Regions from separate parts of the Homo sapiens genome. Here regions 2, 3 and 4 are each linked to region 1. The links are contacts of gene promoters, found by promoter capture Hi-C in blood cells and fetal thymus (Javierre and others, 2016). All regions are on one chromosome and are shown on one strand. Each heading gives the region's core, a stretch centred on a gene start or on the middle of the fragment in contact. The rest is flanking DNA. Distances are from core to core; before and after follow the strand shown.

Region 1 (4,885 bases), core at 1,682-4,181:
AGAGAGAGTGAAGGATGGTGAGAGAGGGAAGGAGAATTTTCTGCTCTTTGGAATTGCTGGGCTCCCTGTGAATAGGAATGGCACCAGTGGAATGGAGGTTGGCTGGGGCAAGGGGAACTCAGCCACACAGAGAAAGAGAACAGTTAGCTTATGTCTAGTTACACACTTTGAGTCAATAACTTATGCAACTCTATGCACTCCGTCATAATACTTGCATGCTATTCAACAAGTATCATCAATATTATGATTACTGGTTTGTGTGACCATGTGGTTAATGTTGATCATACCAACAAGACTGTAAGTTCCCTGAGGGCAGGGGTATATCTGCCTTTCTCTTCCTATATCCTCAGTGCCCAGTATTTGCCTGCTGCAGAGTAAAGAGCCCCAAAATATAAGTTGAATGAACAAATGAATACATGAATGAATTTATGCAAATTCATGTTGTGGACCCATGTTTGCATATTTGTACCATTTGATGACATGAGCAGGGCAGAGTGTGCTGCTGTAATCCAGCACAGCAAGCAGAACTACAAAAGGTGCCTCTCTTTGGTTGGCCAAGTGCTGGAGTTTGTAAAATCAAATGTGGGTGTGAGGTAAGGGTACCCGGCATGAAGACCCTTGGGGTACTCTGAACCCCAGGGTGTGGTCTAGATGTTACCACAGCTTTGTTGCACCCGCCTCAGATCAGTGCTTATCTCTCTTGGACCTTAACATCCTCATCTATAACATGATGGAATAACACTTCTTTTTCCTTGCAGTTCTTAAATTCTAACATTTTAGGAAGATATCTGGACCCTGAAATCTTGTCAGGAACAACCATGGTAAGATCTCTGACTATAAAGTAGAAAACAACTAAGTTTTCAGATATATATATGCATAAAATACAGCTTTATTTTAATAAAACCTTAAATGTAGGGGGACCTTCTTGCCAGATCCAGGCCAACTAATGGCTTTCCTTCAGCTTTTCCCATACTCAGAAGTCAGGTTTCCAGGCCTCTGTGAAAAGCACATAAATATTCTCAGCCAGGGCTGGCCCTTTGCTTCAATCTCCAGCTATCACAGGGAGTCAGTCTGATAAACATTTGCAGTTAGAATGGAAGGAGGCACAGCCTCCTAGACTTTTACAGATTTTTTTGGACAAGTAGCAGAGTCACAGAAAACCTAGAATTAGGTAAGAAAGCAGAACTCCTCCAGAGAATTCAGAGAGAGCTACAACTGAGAGCCTTTAAACAATCAATGTGTAGGAACAGAAGAAAGGAAATCCACAATTCAAGAAAATAAGCAGACATTTTTTTTCCTCAAAAAAAATTGTTAAGATGAATGTTAGGCACTGATTTTAGCCCTCTGTTCCATCCCTCAAGATGTCACTTGAAAAAGCAAAAGGTTTTATCCACAAAACCACCGGCGAGTAAACAGCCTTCACATTCTTAGCCTCGTACACACACAGTAAGATATTTACTCTCTGATAAACAGCAATTGTAAATAAATCTCATTTAATCTCTAAAAGCCACAATAAAAATCTTTAACCTCCAAGGTAGAGTTTACAGATGCGTCTGCATGCCCTGCCAGCCCCAGAAAACACAAGGTCTTGAATAAACTACTATACCAGGAGGCACATTTTCTCGCTCAAGCATCTTACATTGACCTTCTTTAAAACAAAAATACGTACAAGGAGGAGGAAAGGGGAAAACCCAACCCCTCCCACCCCATTCTCTGTACAAATCGGCCAATAAATCTAACGAAAAGACACAAGAGAAAAAGGACAGAAGCCAACAGGTGGAACAAGGCTTTTTGTTTCCTTAGAAATGCTCAGACACTTGATCTGTGCTCCTCAGTCTATTTGTCTCAGGGTGTCTTTAATGATGTTTTTATTACCCTGATGATGATGATCAAGAATAATGATAACACTTCTACTCTGTGATTCCACAGCATCTCTAGCTGACGATTTCTCCACGCGTTTCAGACACAGTGATCTGTTCTGTTTCGCTCAATCCCAGGGAGGCATACAGCATCCCTGATCAGCAACCTTGATTTTACAGATGGGGAAATTGAGGCACGGGGCACCCCACAACTCAACAGTCTCTACGACCAGAGGAATCCCTGAGACTGGAAAAGTTTCTGGATCGTCTTGTGGCAGAGTTCTCTTGCTCTCCCTTCTTGCCTGCCATGCCGCTCCTCCTCGGAGAGTCTGGGCTGGGGTGGTAAGGATCGGGGTGCCTCCCCTTCACAGCGAGGCACGCCAGGGCAGTGTGTGGGAAGTCCACACGCACACACAGACCCACGGGCACACTGGCACACACAAAGCTCGATGCAATCTCTGCAGTCACTCGGCGGAGCCCTGGCCGGCCCTTGCTCAGCCTGAGAATGCACAGCTCGGAGCCTGCAAGGCCTCCCTGGGCTCTGGGCTGGGGTTTCCCTGAACCAAGGCTCTGCCCTTCTCTCCCTCTTTTCCAGGCTTCCCTCTCTCGCGCTCCCTCTCTCTCTCTCTTTTCCCTCCCACCCTCACACCCTCCTCCCAGCCCTCTCCATCCACCCCTTCTCCCCCACCAACCCAGAGGCACAGATCGTGTTACTGGGGTTCCCTCGAAAGAGGGGCCATCCCCAGTCCTGGATGCCTTGAAAGACTTCCAGGGGCAACGCAGGAGCTCCAATCGCAGGACCCCAGCGCTCCTCCAGAGCAGCGCAGGAATGAGACCCCCACTTCCAGGCACAGGCGAACAAGCCTGCCACCGAAGAAGGAATTGTTAGGGCTCTTACCTTTTTTATGAGGAGAAATTCTGGAGAATCATTTCAGAAACTGAGGGGGGAAAGTGAATGAAGACAAAAAAGACCCTTTTCCCGCAATCCCTGGCCTCCTGGTATCAAGACACCAGGACAACATCAAAGCAACTTAGGGGGAACACTTTAGGGGCCTATTGTCTGCTCTGGTCTGATCTGTTTTTCTTCTGACTCCCCCTCTTGCTGCGGTGACACTTGGTACGGCCCAGGCATTCATGCCAAGTAGCTTTCACACATGGAAGCTTGTCTCAAGCAATTGCTGACAAGCCACAAACAAGACATTCTCCCTCCCTTCTCTGCGCCCCCCCACTCCTCCCCCCTCCACCTTTTCCTCCTCCCCTCTTGTCTCCCCTCCTCCTTTCTTCTGAATGCAAACTAAAACTCTCCAGTGACAGGCAGGCTCGCAGGCTTGGCCTAGCTGCGCACGCAGGCACACACACACACACACACACACACACACACACACACACACACACTCTCTCTCTCTCTCTCTCTCTCTCTCTCTCTCTCTCTCTCTCTCTCTCTCTCTCTCTCCTCTCTCTCTCTCTCTCTCTTCTCTCTCTCTCTCTTCTCTCTCTCTCTCAAGCAGCTCAGCTAGTTGCTGCTGCACTGGTGGAGTTAAGAGACAGGAAAAAGCCCAGGCTGAGTTGGGGGCAGGGAGAAAAAGAGAGGGAGAGCGAGAGCAGAGAGCCGCCTCCTGTGTCCTAGTAAAATGGCAGAAGAGAGGTGAGTCCTTTGGAAGAAAAGCAGTGGCCACACACGTGTGCACACATACACAGACTCAGGCCATCTCAGCGCCAGGAAAAGTGAAATAAATGACCCGACAAAGGAAAAAGCAAAGTCCCATTAGCTGGAGATTGGGGGAGTAGGGAGATAAGAGGGTGAGTGGCCCCAGGACTGGGGTTTCTGTTGAGTGGTTAGGTGATTTTTCTTCTTTACAATAGAGAAAAATTTGTTTCCTAAGGATCTAGCCTTCTTTCACTGCATAATTGAGCATGGACTTGAGCTACTAGTTAAAATAAAATCATGAAATGTGTAAATGTGTGAGTAAACTTAACTGTAGGTTCAACTTGTACCCAAGATATTTTTAAAGTGAAGCTTTTTTTATTTTTTTTTATTTTTTATTTTAGCAGAAACCCTAGAGAGCAGTAGCAAGGAGAGTAGTAACAAGTAGTGTAAACTAGGAGAGCTGTGAAGTGTGATGCTAAAGTTACTGATTGCCAGGCTGCTGGAATTTATGGAGGGTGGGCCTGAGAGTTGGAGGAGGGGAGGGTGAGTGTGCTGTTTTCTAGGAATAAGAGGGGAATGAGGTAGGATAATGAATATGGCAAGAAACAAGCAGGAATTTGATTGGTGTGGAGGGAGGAGGTGGGGGCTGTAAAGGAGTGGAGAGAGAGAGAGAGAGAGAGAGAGAGAGAGAGAAACAACACTGCATTAAAAAAAGAAGAAAAATGGAAGCCCAGAAAGATTGAAACATGCAGAGTAAATGAGATGGTAAAAGAAGGCATAAAATGTGAGCAAAAAGGAGCACAAAGGATGTGCAAATTTGCAGATGGCATGAAATCAGGAGGGCCAATTGAGATCAGGAAGAAGAATGACAGGATGATTATATGACATTCATATTTTTAGATACTGTGGACTCACAGACCTAACAAGGTCTCCTCTGCCTAGGCCAGAAGAGTTATCCCTATGCAACAGGATCTGAATGGAAGCTTAGCTCCTAACTGCTGCTGAATCAGTTCTGTACTTTTTCATGAAGATTGTTTAGACTCTATTCCTCAGAATCTTCCTTTACAAAATGGAAATTATGAGAACACACATCACTCATTCCTTCATAGGTATGCAGTAAAGAATAAATTATGACTTCTTTCATACTTAACACCAGCTAAATGAGGTGTCACTACCTAAAACTCACCACATCAAAGACACAGACTTGTTCCTGTTATTTTCCCCCTTAATTTGCTCCTCCATTATCCCTGATCCCTGAACTGTCTGTCCCGACTCCCATTAATGATGATGATGTGGTAATATAATAATAATAATAATAACCTTTTTTTAAGTATTTACTTGATTCTTAGCATTTTCCCACTCATTTGTATCATGAAGT
Region 2 (4,247 bases), core at 578-3,077, 340 kb before region 1:
CTTGAAGGAGGCCAATTTCTTTCTCAAAATTCTACCTGGTGAGTGGGAAAGGCCCAGGAGTGGGTGGGAATAGGTTGAGAAATGCTTCTATCAGTTGCTGGAGCACAGAGACCAGTTCATATTTATGAGTTCATCATCTATTTTGGTTGGAAATCTCACAAAAAAATAAGAAAGCACAACTTCTTGACCAAAATTATGAGCAGAAAGGTCTGCTACTGTCCATCACTCATACTTTCAGGAATTGACACAATGCATTTCTCATTCACCAGTTCTATGCTAACAGTTAGGCATATGCAGATGTGAACACCAACATTATTACAAAACTTGAAGATCCCTTTTAAAATAGTCATAACTTATTAAATGTACATTATAAGGCTGGCACCTTTATATACATCATTTCACTTCATCATTATTAAAGCCCTATAAAGTAACTCTTTTATTCCTGTTTTACAGATTTGGGAATGCAGTTAAATATATTATTCACTTGCTCAAGGTCATAATGCTAAGAAGTGGTAGAATCAAGATTTATATCCAGGCCCAAATTTGAAGTTTATAACTTGCATTTTTTCCATTACATGGTACGTGTCTTTTGGTTAGAGTTAGAGACAGCAGCTGGACTTCAAGAGTTTGGTAACATTACTTACTTTCTCTTACTAAAGAAATGGGGTTGGGGGGAGGAAAGAGTCTACAACTGAGCTTTAAATTGGGGATTAGTGGAAGCATATTTTATAACATTTTAAGTTCAATGTCTTTTATTGGGTTGGCCTTGAAATGAAAGTCTAGGAAATAAGATGTCTGCTCTGAGATGGGGGTGGAAGATCCTGTACTTTCACATGCCTGTTAAAATTAGAGATGAAATATAATCAGTTGATGGAGGGCTTGGATAAAATAAACTGAGACACATAACTGGCAAATATGAAAGTGCATGAAAGGGACCAAGACCCAGAAGATCGTAGAGAAAAGAGACGCATATCTCATTGCCAAGCTGGAGTTATTTCTGTTTAGAGACACCAAAGTTCTCCCTAAAACTTTTCCCTTAGTCTTGGTAATGTGAAACTCTGGGGGGGTCATTCCTACAAATTCTGCCCCCTTTGTGATCCCCTGTATAATTAGATCCATCCTTTTTAAGGAAGAGGACCTGGCAGATATGTTTCATGGTTTATACGTAATCCAGTTCCTTTCATGCTTCCTGCTGTAAACTTTTGCCTGTACATTGTATTTTTGAGACCCTACTGCAATCATTCCCAGGGTCGGAATGATCACAACCAGCTGACCAGACCAGTTAGCTGCTGTTTGGTTAACTGTTCAAGTAGATTGGAAGAAGAGGCAGTGAAAGAACTGGGCAGTGAGAGCAAGGTAAGGACATTGAGAAGATGCATGCCCAGGGATTTTGGTCTTCCGTCTTCCTTTAACTTGTATTGTCCACATGAGATTGTATTAGTGAGGGTTCTCCAGAGAAACAGAACCAATCTGATATATATATAGGCATATAAGAGATTTGTTATGGGATTTGGCTCACGTGATTATGGAGGCCAAGAAGTCCCACAATATGCCATCTGCAAGCTGGAGAACCAGGAAAGCTTGTGATGCGATTCAGTTCAAGTCTGAAGGCCTGAGAACCAGGGGAATCGATGGTGTAACTCCTGGTTCAAAGCTGAGAGCTGGTGGGATGGGGAGTTGGTGGGGAAGGCACTGGAGTAAATCCTGAAGTCTGTAGGCCTGCGAACTAGGAGCTCCAATTTCTGAGAGCAGGAGAAGATGGGTATCCCAGCTCAAGAAGAGAGAGAGAATTTACCCTTTCTCCTGCTTTTTGTTCTATTTGGGCCTTTAATAGATTAGAAGATGCTCACCCATACTGGGGGAAATGAATCTTCTTTACTCAGCATATTGATTTAAATTATAATCTTTTGCTACAACATCCTAATAGACACACCTGAAAATAATGTTTTATCAGTTAAATGGGCATCCCTTAGCACAATCAAGTTGACATATAAAATTAACCATTACAGAGATCAATCTTGGATAGGCTTCTCCTCTGGGTCCTCTCTAGCTGCCTTGTAAAATGCTAAGCTTCCAACTGTATGATTTTTCTTGTTATCACTTCTTCTATTCTTGGAAATTTAAAAAGCACTGGTCTCAGAGGGATTGTTCTCCCCTGCCCCACACCATGTTAGTTTTAAGTTTAATGATTTTCATAGTGTCCTTAAACTAACTGGTCTATTTTTCTATTGGCATAGTCAAATGGAGTTCACGTTTATACCTGCTTAAGAGTTAATTAGTTTAGTTTAAGAATCGACTTTATGTGGTTCTAGCTTTAACTCAAGAATGACTGAAATAATAACCACAATAACAGTAACACTGAATAGAATCAATGAAAGAAAATCATACTGCAGGAGGGGATGGTGGTTGTTTCATTTGTATTATTTGTTTTAACACATTCATTTGTTGCTGCCACAAAGATATAAAACCCATCATTCTTGACCTGTTCAACACTCAAACGTGTTTACAATGAAGATGATCACTATGGTCTCTTGAAAAACATGAAAAAAGAAAAACAGTTAATGATCCTCTTGTTTGGTTGGGATGGTACCATTTGGTCCATACCTCTATTATGGACTTTATTAAATTGCATGGTAGTTATTGGTTAACCTGGCTGGCTTCTCCAATAAAATGCAAGTTCCTTGAGGGCATATTAATTAAAATTCATATTAATAAAATTTTGCTGTTCTTTGATTAAATATTATCCAAAAGTCATAATAAATAAAGAATGAGGGGTCAAATTAATTAGGTTAATAAAATAACTGGGGCTGGCCAGCACAGCTAGCCAGCAGGGAACTCCCATCTAAATTCATTACCACCTGGCTATGTTTTGGCAACTCCTGATAGTAGTTGTCTGCTCTAGCCTAAATATTGATGGGGATGCTTCTGGGTCCTGTTGTTGGGATTTCCAGGGAAAGAGCAGTGATTCCAAACATCTCCTGGTTAGTGGTACCCACTTGGCCCAATTCAAGTAGATAGGTCCAGAAAAACATTAGGGATGCTGGGACTTACCCTCCACTTCGCTGCTTCCAAAGACAAATTTACCACCATTTCCCCTATTTTTTCCATCCTGCCCCTCTTCTTCTTTCCACATTTTCTCTTTTTCCTCAAATAATAAGAAAGCTGTCTGCTAATTTGAGAATAGTGGCTGAATGGAAGAAGGAAGCCAATATCAGGGTCTTATATTCTAGTGCATTGTCATTGCAGGAGTTTTACTCTGTTAGATACTCAAAAAGTATTTGTTGAATTAATGAATAAATACAATTTGTCTCAAGCAATGACCTGAACTTCTTAAAGAGTCAGACAACAAAATGTATAAATAAACCAATACAAGGAATCAACATTTGGCACCACTAAATCCTGGGTGTCTAGCATACAGGCTAGCTAATAAAATACTAATGACATACTAGCAAGTCTAGATTTTGAAAACTGAAGGAATTGCATGGCATATCTGCACACCAGATTAGCCTAAACTTCATAGTCAAAACTCTGCCCAATTCTAGGCTAAAAGAAGGTGTATATTGAAGGTAGCTGTGGTTGTGATCCAGGTTTAGATAATCGGTGCTGACAAATTATCTCAATCCAATCAATGACTGAGTTTATCAGAAGCTGAGATTTATTCTTTTTGAGGGCTAGTCTATTTCTAGTCCCTGTTTACTCCTAAGTGTAAATCAGTGCAACAGGATGACATAACAATCCTAAATATAAATGTATCTAATAACAGAAGCAAAACGTGACATAACTAAGAGGAAAAATAAACAAATATCTAATTATAGTGAGAGATTTTAACAACATAGCTTTCTTTAAGTAATTTATAGAGCAAGTAGATAAAAAATCAGTAAGGATAAAAAGCCCTGAGCAGCACAATCAACAATTTGACCTAATTGACATTCATAGAACAATCTACCTTATACAGCAGAATAAACATTCTTTTTAAGTGCCCAGGAAACAGTCACCAAAATTAATCATACGCTGAGTCATAAAATAACTCTTAATACTTTTAAAAGGTTAATATTATATATAATATATTCTCTAGCTACAATAGAATTAAATTATAAATCAATTAAATTAGAAATTAATAATAATAAAATATCTAGAAAAATCTCCAGATATTTGGAAATTAAACATTTATAAGTAATCCATGTTTCAAAGAAGAAATCACAAGAGAGATTAAAAAATATTTTTAATTGAATGAAACAAAACCAGAA
Region 3 (4,547 bases), core at 458-2,957, 380 kb before region 1:
GATGATCAGTCTGTGTCCTTTGGATGAGTGTTTGCTCACACCACTTTACTGTCCTTTGTCATAGCAACTGCAATGTTCATACCTACGGTACTCTCACACTTCCCAGCACCATCCACATACTGACAGCTAACTACTTCATCCCCTTCCTCCAAATTAATGCAAAGGACTGGGCCCAGGAGTTGACACTAACACTAGATCCCTGGGAGACACCCTAGTACCTCTTCTCCATGCACATACATAGCACCTGCTCATGCCAGTGGCTGGATGATCTCTGTTAGGGATTTTCTCTTGAAAATTTTTACTTACTGTGACATAGTTGTAGATTCACATGCAGTTGTAAGTCTGGGATCTTTTGAGACATATGATATCACCAATTCTGTGGCATCCTACTCCCGCTGTCTCCCTTCATGGATAGACATCCTATCTTGTAGTTTTGCCTACTGTGCCAGGTTCACTGAGTCTCTGAACTCCCCTGTTTGCCCCACTAAGTCACCAGTGTAAGCTGGACAGGAAACCCCAAGTATTCAGAGGAAAAGTGTTTATTTCCCAATGGTCCCATGGACAGTATCTATACTTGATACCTAGAAAATGTATAGGTGCAGTTTTCTCAAAGTGTGGTTCTCTAACGACTTGGGGGGCTTATTTAAAATGTAGATTCATAAGCCCTAATGTAGACCAGTGGACTTGGGATTTCTGAAAGTGACTCTGAGGAGGAATCTGGGAGTCATAATATATAAAAATTATATACATTTATCATGCACAAAATGATGTCTTGAAATATGTATACATTGTGGAATGGCTAAATCAAGGTAATTAGCATATGTATTACTTCAGATACTTATTTTTTGTGGTGAGAATACTTAAAATCTACTCTCTTAGAGATTTTCAAAAATGGATACATTGTTATTAACTATAGTCACCATATTGTACAATAGATCTCTTGAACTTACTCTTGTTATCTAACTGAAATTTCCTTTGACCAACATCTCCCCTACCCCACCCAACTATCCCCCCCCCCAGCCCCTGGTAATCTCCACTCTACTCTCTGCTTTTGTGCATTCAATTTTTTTTTTAGAAGTAATCTGCATTTTTAACAGCTTCCCAGGAGATTCTTATGCACACTGACTGGGGACTGGTTGTGAGACTCTGCTCCCCACCTCAAAACTTTCCTAGAGTGAGTCAGCGCCTTCACACTAGGAAAATGCCAGTTCTGATTTGCCTAGAGAAAGGGGACTAAGGGCCAGAGTGGTGCTAGCTTTGCTCTTTCCTTTTTTCCACTCCCACCCCCCTTTCTCTAGATATGCTCACTCCACAGCCTCAGGAAGCCTAAAAATCTTTTCCAACCACTTGTGCTTTGGCTCAAGAATTCCCCTTCATCTTCCTTGAGTCTACTTTGAACCTCTTGCCTAGCTGATTCTCACTTTGCCAGACCTTCTTGGAGGTGCATTCCGGTCCTTTCCTCTTATACAATCTCATTTTGGATATATTGACCTTGGTGCTGACCTGGTGTGCACTGATTGGTTCATATGAGTTAGAGTTAACTCTGTATCAAGTGCTTGGTTGTTCTTGAGGCCGTGTTCCTGAGGAATAAAGAAGATTAAATAGTTGTGTGGTTTTATGCAAGTTACTAAACTCTCTGTACTTCAGTTTCCTCATCTAAAAAATAGAGATAGTAATAGTACCTTATCTCATAAGGCTATTATGAAGATTAATATACATAAAGCCCTCAGGAAAATAAGCACTTTATAGTAAGTATGCAATAATTTTTACCCATTATTATTATTATGAGTTTACGTTCAGTTTTCCTTCATTGTTAATTAGTTTCAATGTATATTTATTTATTAATATTTATAAATGTATGTTTAAAAGTTTTGGTTGTCAGTTATTCAAATTATACTGAAAAGATTGATGATTGTAGAGCTCCCAAATTTGGAAAGATTCAGCGGCATTATTTGAAATATATAACACCAACTTTTTCCATTTATTAAAACTAATTTTGGGATTCTCTGTTAATATAATTATCATGCAGAATGAATTTGATCCATATATTTTGTGAACAAAGGGGAAGAATGTGTAGAGATTAAATTTTAAATGGAATATATTAGTTGAAGTTCAAAGTAAAGGATGTTCATATTCTTAATGTATGAACTGTTCCAAACTTCTGGTCCCCTGCTGTCTGTGCTCAGGCAGAGCAGAAAGCTCTCCCTACTGCCCCACCACTTCTTGCTCCAGGACTAACTTCTTTTTGGGATAACTACCAGCAGGGACATTTGCTTATTTTAAAGAAGTGCCCACCTTTACCACTGGATTGAGATTTGCCACCATGACATTAAGACAGTTGCAAAGGAGTACAACACTGGCATATTTCCAAAGTCTGGGATATTCATTCTTATTCTTGGTTAACGTGATGCATACCCACACCAATGCACATATACCTTTTGATTTTCCCAAAACTGGATCACAAGGAGTGCTATGGACTCCTAGTGATCCAATATTGAAAAAATGGATCCTGTTTGTGTACCCCCAAAATGCATATGTTGAAGCCCTGGTTTCCGATGTGATAGTATTTGGAGGAGGGGCCTTTGGGAGCTGATTAGGTTTAGATGAGGTAATGAGAGTGAAGCCCCATGATGGGATTTGTGCCCTTCCAAGGAGATGAAGGACCAGCACACTCTCTTTCTGACAGGTGAGTATATGGTGAGAAGGCAGCTGTCTGTGAACCAGAAGGAGGGCCCTCACCAAGAAGTGACCATGCTGGCACCCTGATCTTGGACTTCTGGCATCTGGAACTGTAAGAAATAAATGTTTGTTAAATATATACACCTACTATGCACCCATAAAACTTAAGAATAAAAAATTTTTTAAAGTTTGTTGTTGAAGCCACCCAATGTATGGTATCTTGTTATAGTAGCTTGAACTAAGACAATGAGCATACTATGTTGTTACATAGTTTTCATTATATTTCATTTTAGAAATATATTATGGGGCTGGGCATGGTGGCTCACGCCCGTAGTCCCAGCACTTTGGGAGGCCGAGGTGGGTGGATCACTTCAGGTCAGGAGTTTGAGACCAGCCTGGCCAACATGGTGAAACCCCATCTCTACTAAAAATACAAAAATTAGCTGGGCATGGTGGCACATGCCTGTAATCCCACCTACTTGGGAGGCTGAGGCAGAAGAATTGCTTGAACCTGGGAGGCGGAGGTTGCAGTGAGCCGAGATTGTGCCACTGCACTCCAGGCTGGGTGACAGAGCAAGACTTTGTCTAAAAAACAAAAAACAAACAAACAAACAAAAAACAACAAAAAAAAGAAATATATTATAGGACAGGCATGGTGGCTAAAACTTGTAATCCCAGCACTTTGGGAGGCCGAAGTGAGAGGATTACTTGAGTCCAGGAGTTTGAGACCAACCTGGATAACATTGGGAGACCCTGTCTCTATTAAAAAAAAAAAAAAATTAGCCAGGCATGGTGGTGCACACCTGTAATCCCAGATACTCTGGAGGCTGAAGTGTGGGGATTGCTTGAGCCTATGAGGTTGAGGCTGTAATAATCTGTGATTGCACCACTGCATTCCAGCCTGGGTGTCTCAAAAAAAATGTATATTATGAATATTTTCTTTTGCCAAAGACTTTATAGCATTTTTATTGACTCAGTAACATTCCATCATATGGTTATCTCATGAGTAAGTTAACCAATCTACCTTTTGGATTATTTTTTTGGTGGTGTTTACTATAATAAAATAATATGATGGTGAAGAATTTGGCCCACAAGAAACACTTATTCAAGCCTCCAATTTTCCCTGGGCAAGGGAAGGTCACTGTGTCTATGTTCCAGCAAATTCTGAGGACACACATCAAGGTCCTGCAAGCTTGGCTACTGTGGTAGCCGGAGATGAGCCTGTGAACTTCTGCAGACCAATAGGCCACTAATGACTAGTGAGAAAGAGGTCAGGCCTCCCTCCCAGCAAGTGCTTCCCAAAAAGTCTCAGGGGTTTTCCTTGAGCCCCTCACTTGGAGGGGAGTGAGGGAAGGGGGTGAGAAACACCACAGCTCTTTCTTCTAGTCTGACAACTCTCTTCAAAGACTGCTCCTATCAGTTAACCCTTATCGTTCTCTTAAATAACCCAGAGGTGGATTGTGAGCTAGGAGTTGCAAGACTGTTTGGGGGCTACTTTTTTTTTTTTAAAGCAATTCTAGATTGTGCTTTGTACCACTTTTTAGAGAGTATAGACATTGAGCATTTATTGTCCTTGGTTATGTAGCCTTACTGAAACTCCAAGACATAGGAAGTATTTTGTTTAACATTTCATTACATATCCATTAAATCAGACTTGTAAATTACATTTAGGTCCTCTCTATTTTTGTCTTCTATCAATTCGTCAAGGACTGAAGTCTTTTATCACTATTATTTTTCTGTCCATATCTCCATATATTTCTGAGAGCTTCATACAGTCCAATGCCTTATTTTTCAGTGCAAAATGATTCACAGTATGTCTTTGTTGCATATTATATTTTATATTAATAAAGATCAATATTTTGGTTTGA
Region 4 (4,683 bases), core at 103-2,602, 280 kb after region 1:
CAATCTCGGCTCACTGCCAGCTCCATCTCTCAGGTTTACGCCATTCTCCTGCCTCAGCCTCCCAAGTAGCTGGGACTACAGGCGCCCACCACCATGCCCAGCTAATTTTTTGAATTTTTTAGTAGAGACGGGGTTTCACCGTATTAGCCAGGATGGTCTCGATCTCCTGACCTCGTGATCCACCCATCTCAGCCTCCCAAAGTGCTGGGATTACAGGCGTGAGCCACTGCGCCCGGCTGGTTGCGTCCAACTTTTATAAACTGAAAACAATATTAGGGGGAAATAAAAAACGGCAGTATCCCCCTCCCCATCTCAGCCCAATAAATACATGTATTTTCTTTCCAACTAGTTATCTGCAACCCAAGCTTCATCTAAAAAGGAATGCTTAGATGACCCAGAACCATTTCTTCACTTAATCCCTGAGCCTTAGTTTCCTTATGAATAACAAGAAAAGGCTCTGGGGCCAGCAACAGAACTTAGCTTTCCCACTCCAAATCCAGGTTCTTTTACTATGCCTGCTTCTCTCCTCCCGTTTTAAATTAGTAAACTGGCACAGTAGTTTATGAAGCCATCTTTCATAAGGTTAGATGCCAGGATATGACAACTGCTATGGATTGAATGTGTTTCCTTCAAAATTCAGGTGTTGTCAATGTAATATTATTAAGAGGTAGCGCCTTTAAGAGGTGGTTAGTTCATAAGAACTTTTCCCTCGTGAATAAGATTAAGGCCTTTATATATAAAAAAAAAAAAGTGTCATGCAGCATTTGGATAGCTTGCTCTTCTGCTCCCTCTTGCCCGTCCACCTTCTGTCATGTGAGGATGCAGTTAAGAAGGCTCTTGCCAAATGCTGGCACCTTGATCTTGGACTTCCCAGCCTCTAGAACGGTGATAAATAAATTTCTGCTCATATGAATTACCCAGTCTGTGAAAAACAGACCAAGACAAGCTCTCAGAAGGAGATACTGTTAAAAGTCCCTACAAAGAAAGCAAAGGACACCAGGGATAGAGGGGGCCCCACCAGGGGACAGCGACCTTTGAGACTGGGCTAATAATACACAGTGATCGTATCTACATTAAGACTCTAAAAACTACAACTTTCAGACCAGTAAAAATAGAATTCATATCTAAGACTTTCCTCCAAGTGACCTCTAAATTTATTAATTGGTTTATTATAGGACAAGGACCAAACTTCAATTATCATCACAGAAATTAACATATGTGGTCTCATCAATGAACAAATCTTTACCAGGTCAATAAAAAGGGTATTTCACATCGCACTGACTCCTCGGAAAAAAGGGCCCATCTAGGGTACAATGGTATTTCTCATCTACTTTGCCAGAATGATGCAAGAGATCCAGAGAAAGGAATGAAAGCAAGTGTATTATGCTCAAAAGTAGGACAAAGACAAGACAAACTGGAGGTAATATTCAATAGCATGTAATTGGTCTCTTCATGAACCCAGGTGAACTATCAAATTTTTTCAACAGGTAAATTGGGGGGAAGGGTACAACATGTCTGATATATCTACTATTGCACAAAGAAGAATTATAATAAGATTTTTTAAGAGAAATTGTTCCTTTGAAGATAATCAAAAGAGAGTTGAAACATCTGAAATAAAATGCATTCTATTGGGGTAGGGTTCTTATTCACCAGATATTAGTAAACCTATCTCCAATATAAAAGAAAGAAGAAGTTAGGCCATATTTAGTACTTCTTCTGTCTTCTATAAAATGTTCATTTAGCCCTGCAGAAATCGAACTCGAAAAAAGGTTTCAATTTAATTGACTCTATATAGGCCTAAACTAGTATTTTTTAAAGGGAGTTACGAAGAAAAGATGAATATGTGGAGCACATAGGATTTTTAGGGCAGTGAAACTACTCTGTATGATACTATAACAGTAGATATCATGGTATTGTACATTTGTCCAAACCTACAGAATGCACACCACCAAGAGTGAACCCGAATGTAAACTATGGACTTTGAGTGATAGCGATGTATCAATGTAGGTTCATCAGTTGCAACAACTGTGCCACTCTGGTGGGGTATGTTGATAATGGGTGAAGCTGTACAAGTGTGGGGACAGGGGACAGCTGTACATGTGTGGGGACATATGCATGGGAAACATCTGTAGTTTCTGTTCAATTTTGTTGTGAATCTAAAATTACTCTAAAATATAATGTATATTTAAAAAGAAGGGGTTATATAAAAACTAAGGCTACACTGTAAGTTTACCTCTGACAAGGTCTTATGCAGCAGGGAGCTTTGGTTTTTCAACCTGTGAGCTTCATCCACAACAAGAACACTCCAAGGGAATCTGTGAGAGAAAACCCAAGCTTTCAGTTTTGTGTAATTTAAACACATATTTCACAATCAAAAGTCTTACTACAAAACTGTGACTGTTATTAAAAAGACTTAACAGTAAGCCCCTTCTATTACAAATGCCACCAAATTACCTTCCTGAGAGGCTACATGTGCATAATACAATATCTGGATAAGGTAGTAAAACCAAGGGATTTTTTTTTTTAACAAAATGGGAAAGACCTATGCAGAAAGGAAGAAGCCAGAGACAGAAAGGAAAAGGAAACATTTATGATCTCCTACTTTGTGCCAGACACTAACCTCAGGGCTTTATGTGTTATTTAGTCTAAAAGAGTATAGCAAGCAGACAATTGTGCTCATTTTACTAATAAAGACACTAAAGCTCAGAAAGGTTAGGTGACTTGGTGAAGGTCATAAAGACAGAGCTGATGTTCAAACAGAAGAAAAAAATCAAGATAGACAGTGGTGTTGTAGGAACTTAAGAAGTGTGACTTTAAAATGGGTAAGTGGTGAGCAGAGTCAAATCTCACAGAGATGTCCAGGAAGATATATCCACTGAATTTGTTGACATGGAAGTCATTAGTGGCTGTTGCCAGAGCACATTTTGTAGCATACTGTGTCACATCAGCAATTTCTCAAGAAGTTTCAGTCATAAAAGCAAATACTTTGACAGATACTACTGAGAAGCTATTTAAGAAAAATTCAAAATACAGAAAAAGATATATGTGGGAATGTTTCAAGTTGTATTATTTAAAACAGCAAAAAATGGAAAATAACCTAAATGTCCAATAATAGGTAGTAAAATATTACATGGCATTTTAAATAATAAATATGATTATGTTGCAATTTAAAAGGCCTATAGAATAATAAAAAAGATATAAATATCATGTATCCTCTTTTACAAATGTGAAAGCCATGCAAAAGATAATAAAGTGAAAATTATAAGATGTTTAACTTTTTATTTTGATTATAAACATTCTGGAATCCCATTACATTATTTTCATATTTAAAAAACTAAATGTATATACAGGTAAAACAGAACACTGGAAAAATAGTAGGTATGGAAAGGAAAATTCCTCCAAAATTAGAGAAAGATCTTGAGCAGAGGTTCACCTTACAAGGAGGAGGCCCTCTTCCTGAGGCTACAGAGAAACTCCAGAGGACAGGCAGAGGAACAGAGGTCCCTATGACATTACCATTCACCTACTGAGAGAAGCGAGTAGAGGGAGGACTGAGGGTCCAAAGAGAGTGCAGGAAGTCGAAGGAGAAGGTTGGGTGGCATGAGCAGAGGATGCATTTAAGGATGACAAGAAACAAAGGTCCAGTTGAAGTTGCACAGTGGTCATGAGATAAGGTATGGAAGTTTCTCTAGGATGGTGCCTGGCTCTGTCTGAATTAGCTTTCAAAACAGATTAGGTCCTATTCCCTTGTGAAGAACTAGACATTTAGGTGTCCAAAAAATGCTTGTTCAGTGAAACAGGCTACAGAGTGGTGGATTTTGGCTCATGAAAGGAAGTGGGTCAAATCACTTATCAAAGGATACTCTAAATGATGTCCCCTGAAGAGGAAAAGATGGGGGAAATCCAGCACTGAATGGAAAGTTGGATGAGGTAACTTCTAATCCTCTTGATCCAAAGAGTTTTACAAGTCTATTGTCCAAAACATTTCAAATTTTTCATATTTGTAACATGCACAGCCTTAACTCTCCATAATAAATCTCTTTAGGGCAGAGATGATATTACACTTCCCTGCTATTCTCAGAATGTACAATACAGCAATAAGCAATATAACCTTCCAAATATATTGAAAGAATGTATCTATGTTGTTGGGATTCATACTACAGGACAGCATTATAAATGTCCCTCTGTTACTTAGGTTTTTAAATCTACCTGAAAATGCACTGAAAACCGATTATCTGAAATAGAAAGATTCTATTTCTGCTGAATAATGTAAAACTCCAGTACAACTAGCTATTTTGAGAAGTTCTCTTAAAAAGAGGCTCCACAGCACCAAATGCTGGGTTTAAATGTCTGCTCTGCTATTTATCATCAGCAATGTAACCTTGGATGGGTTACCAAATCTCTTATTTTCCTCACCCGTAAAATGAATAATAGCTGCCTCGTGGGGTTTTCATGAAAATTAAATGGGATAATTTATGTAAAGTACCCAGCAACATTTATGTCCCAATTTTATTATCTTTTGAGACTTCCCATATATTGCTATGTATTATGGATATCTGTACACTTCTCATCCCTCCACTGGAGTTTGTCTTCTTAGGGAAGCTCTATGATTTACTTTCCTGATATTGCCAATAACTCTCAGAACAATGTCTTTCCAGTGACTGACTTTCAACAAATATTAAG

What was found. The method cuts DNA at HindIII sites, captures the fragments that hold promoters and counts their contacts. A CHiCAGO score of 5 or more calls a contact.
Region 2: a fragment that was not itself captured here is called in contact with the fragment with the promoter of BCL9 in region 1 in 6 of 17 cell types (M2 macrophages, naive B cells, M1 macrophages and 3 more); the score reaches 7.2 in M2 macrophages.
Region 3: a contact is called between a fragment that was not itself captured here and the fragment with the promoter of BCL9 in region 1, in 1 of 17 cell types (fetal thymus). The highest score is 6.0, in fetal thymus.
Region 4: a contact is called between a fragment that was not itself captured here and the fragment with the promoter of BCL9 in region 1, in 2 of 17 cell types (megakaryocytes and fetal thymus). The highest score is 7.2, in megakaryocytes.

What each region holds. Positions count from the first base shown.
Region 1 is chr1:147,539,547-147,544,431 of GRCh38, reverse strand. BCL9 (BCL9 transcription coactivator) reads right to left here and starts at 2,931. Exons shown (of 10, transcript NM_004326.4): 1 at 2,758-2,931. RefSeq lists enhancers at 2,886-2,945, 2,506-3,260, 2,979-3,273. The HindIII fragment of the contact is 5,169 bases long and covers 1-3,022 here.
Region 2 is chr1:147,882,459-147,886,705 of GRCh38, reverse strand. No RefSeq gene overlaps it. Among named protein-coding and RNA genes, the nearest start is that of GJA8, 18 kb to the left of the region's middle. The HindIII fragment of the contact is 490 bases long and covers 1,583-2,072 here.
Region 3 is chr1:147,921,666-147,926,212 of GRCh38, reverse strand. LOC105371229 (a long non-coding RNA gene) reads left to right here. Exons shown (of 3, transcript XR_922074.4): 2 at 2,687-2,791. Among named protein-coding and RNA genes, the nearest start is that of GPR89B, 4.5 kb to the left of the region's middle. The HindIII fragment of the contact is 4,332 bases long and covers 1-3,873 here.
Region 4 is chr1:147,257,469-147,262,151 of GRCh38, reverse strand. It overlaps CHD1L (chromodomain helicase DNA binding protein 1 like), which reads right to left. Exons shown (of 23, transcript NM_004284.6): 6 at 2,234-2,315. Among named protein-coding and RNA genes, the nearest start is that of CHD1L, 17 kb to the right of the region's middle. The HindIII fragment of the contact is 1,969 bases long and covers 368-2,336 here.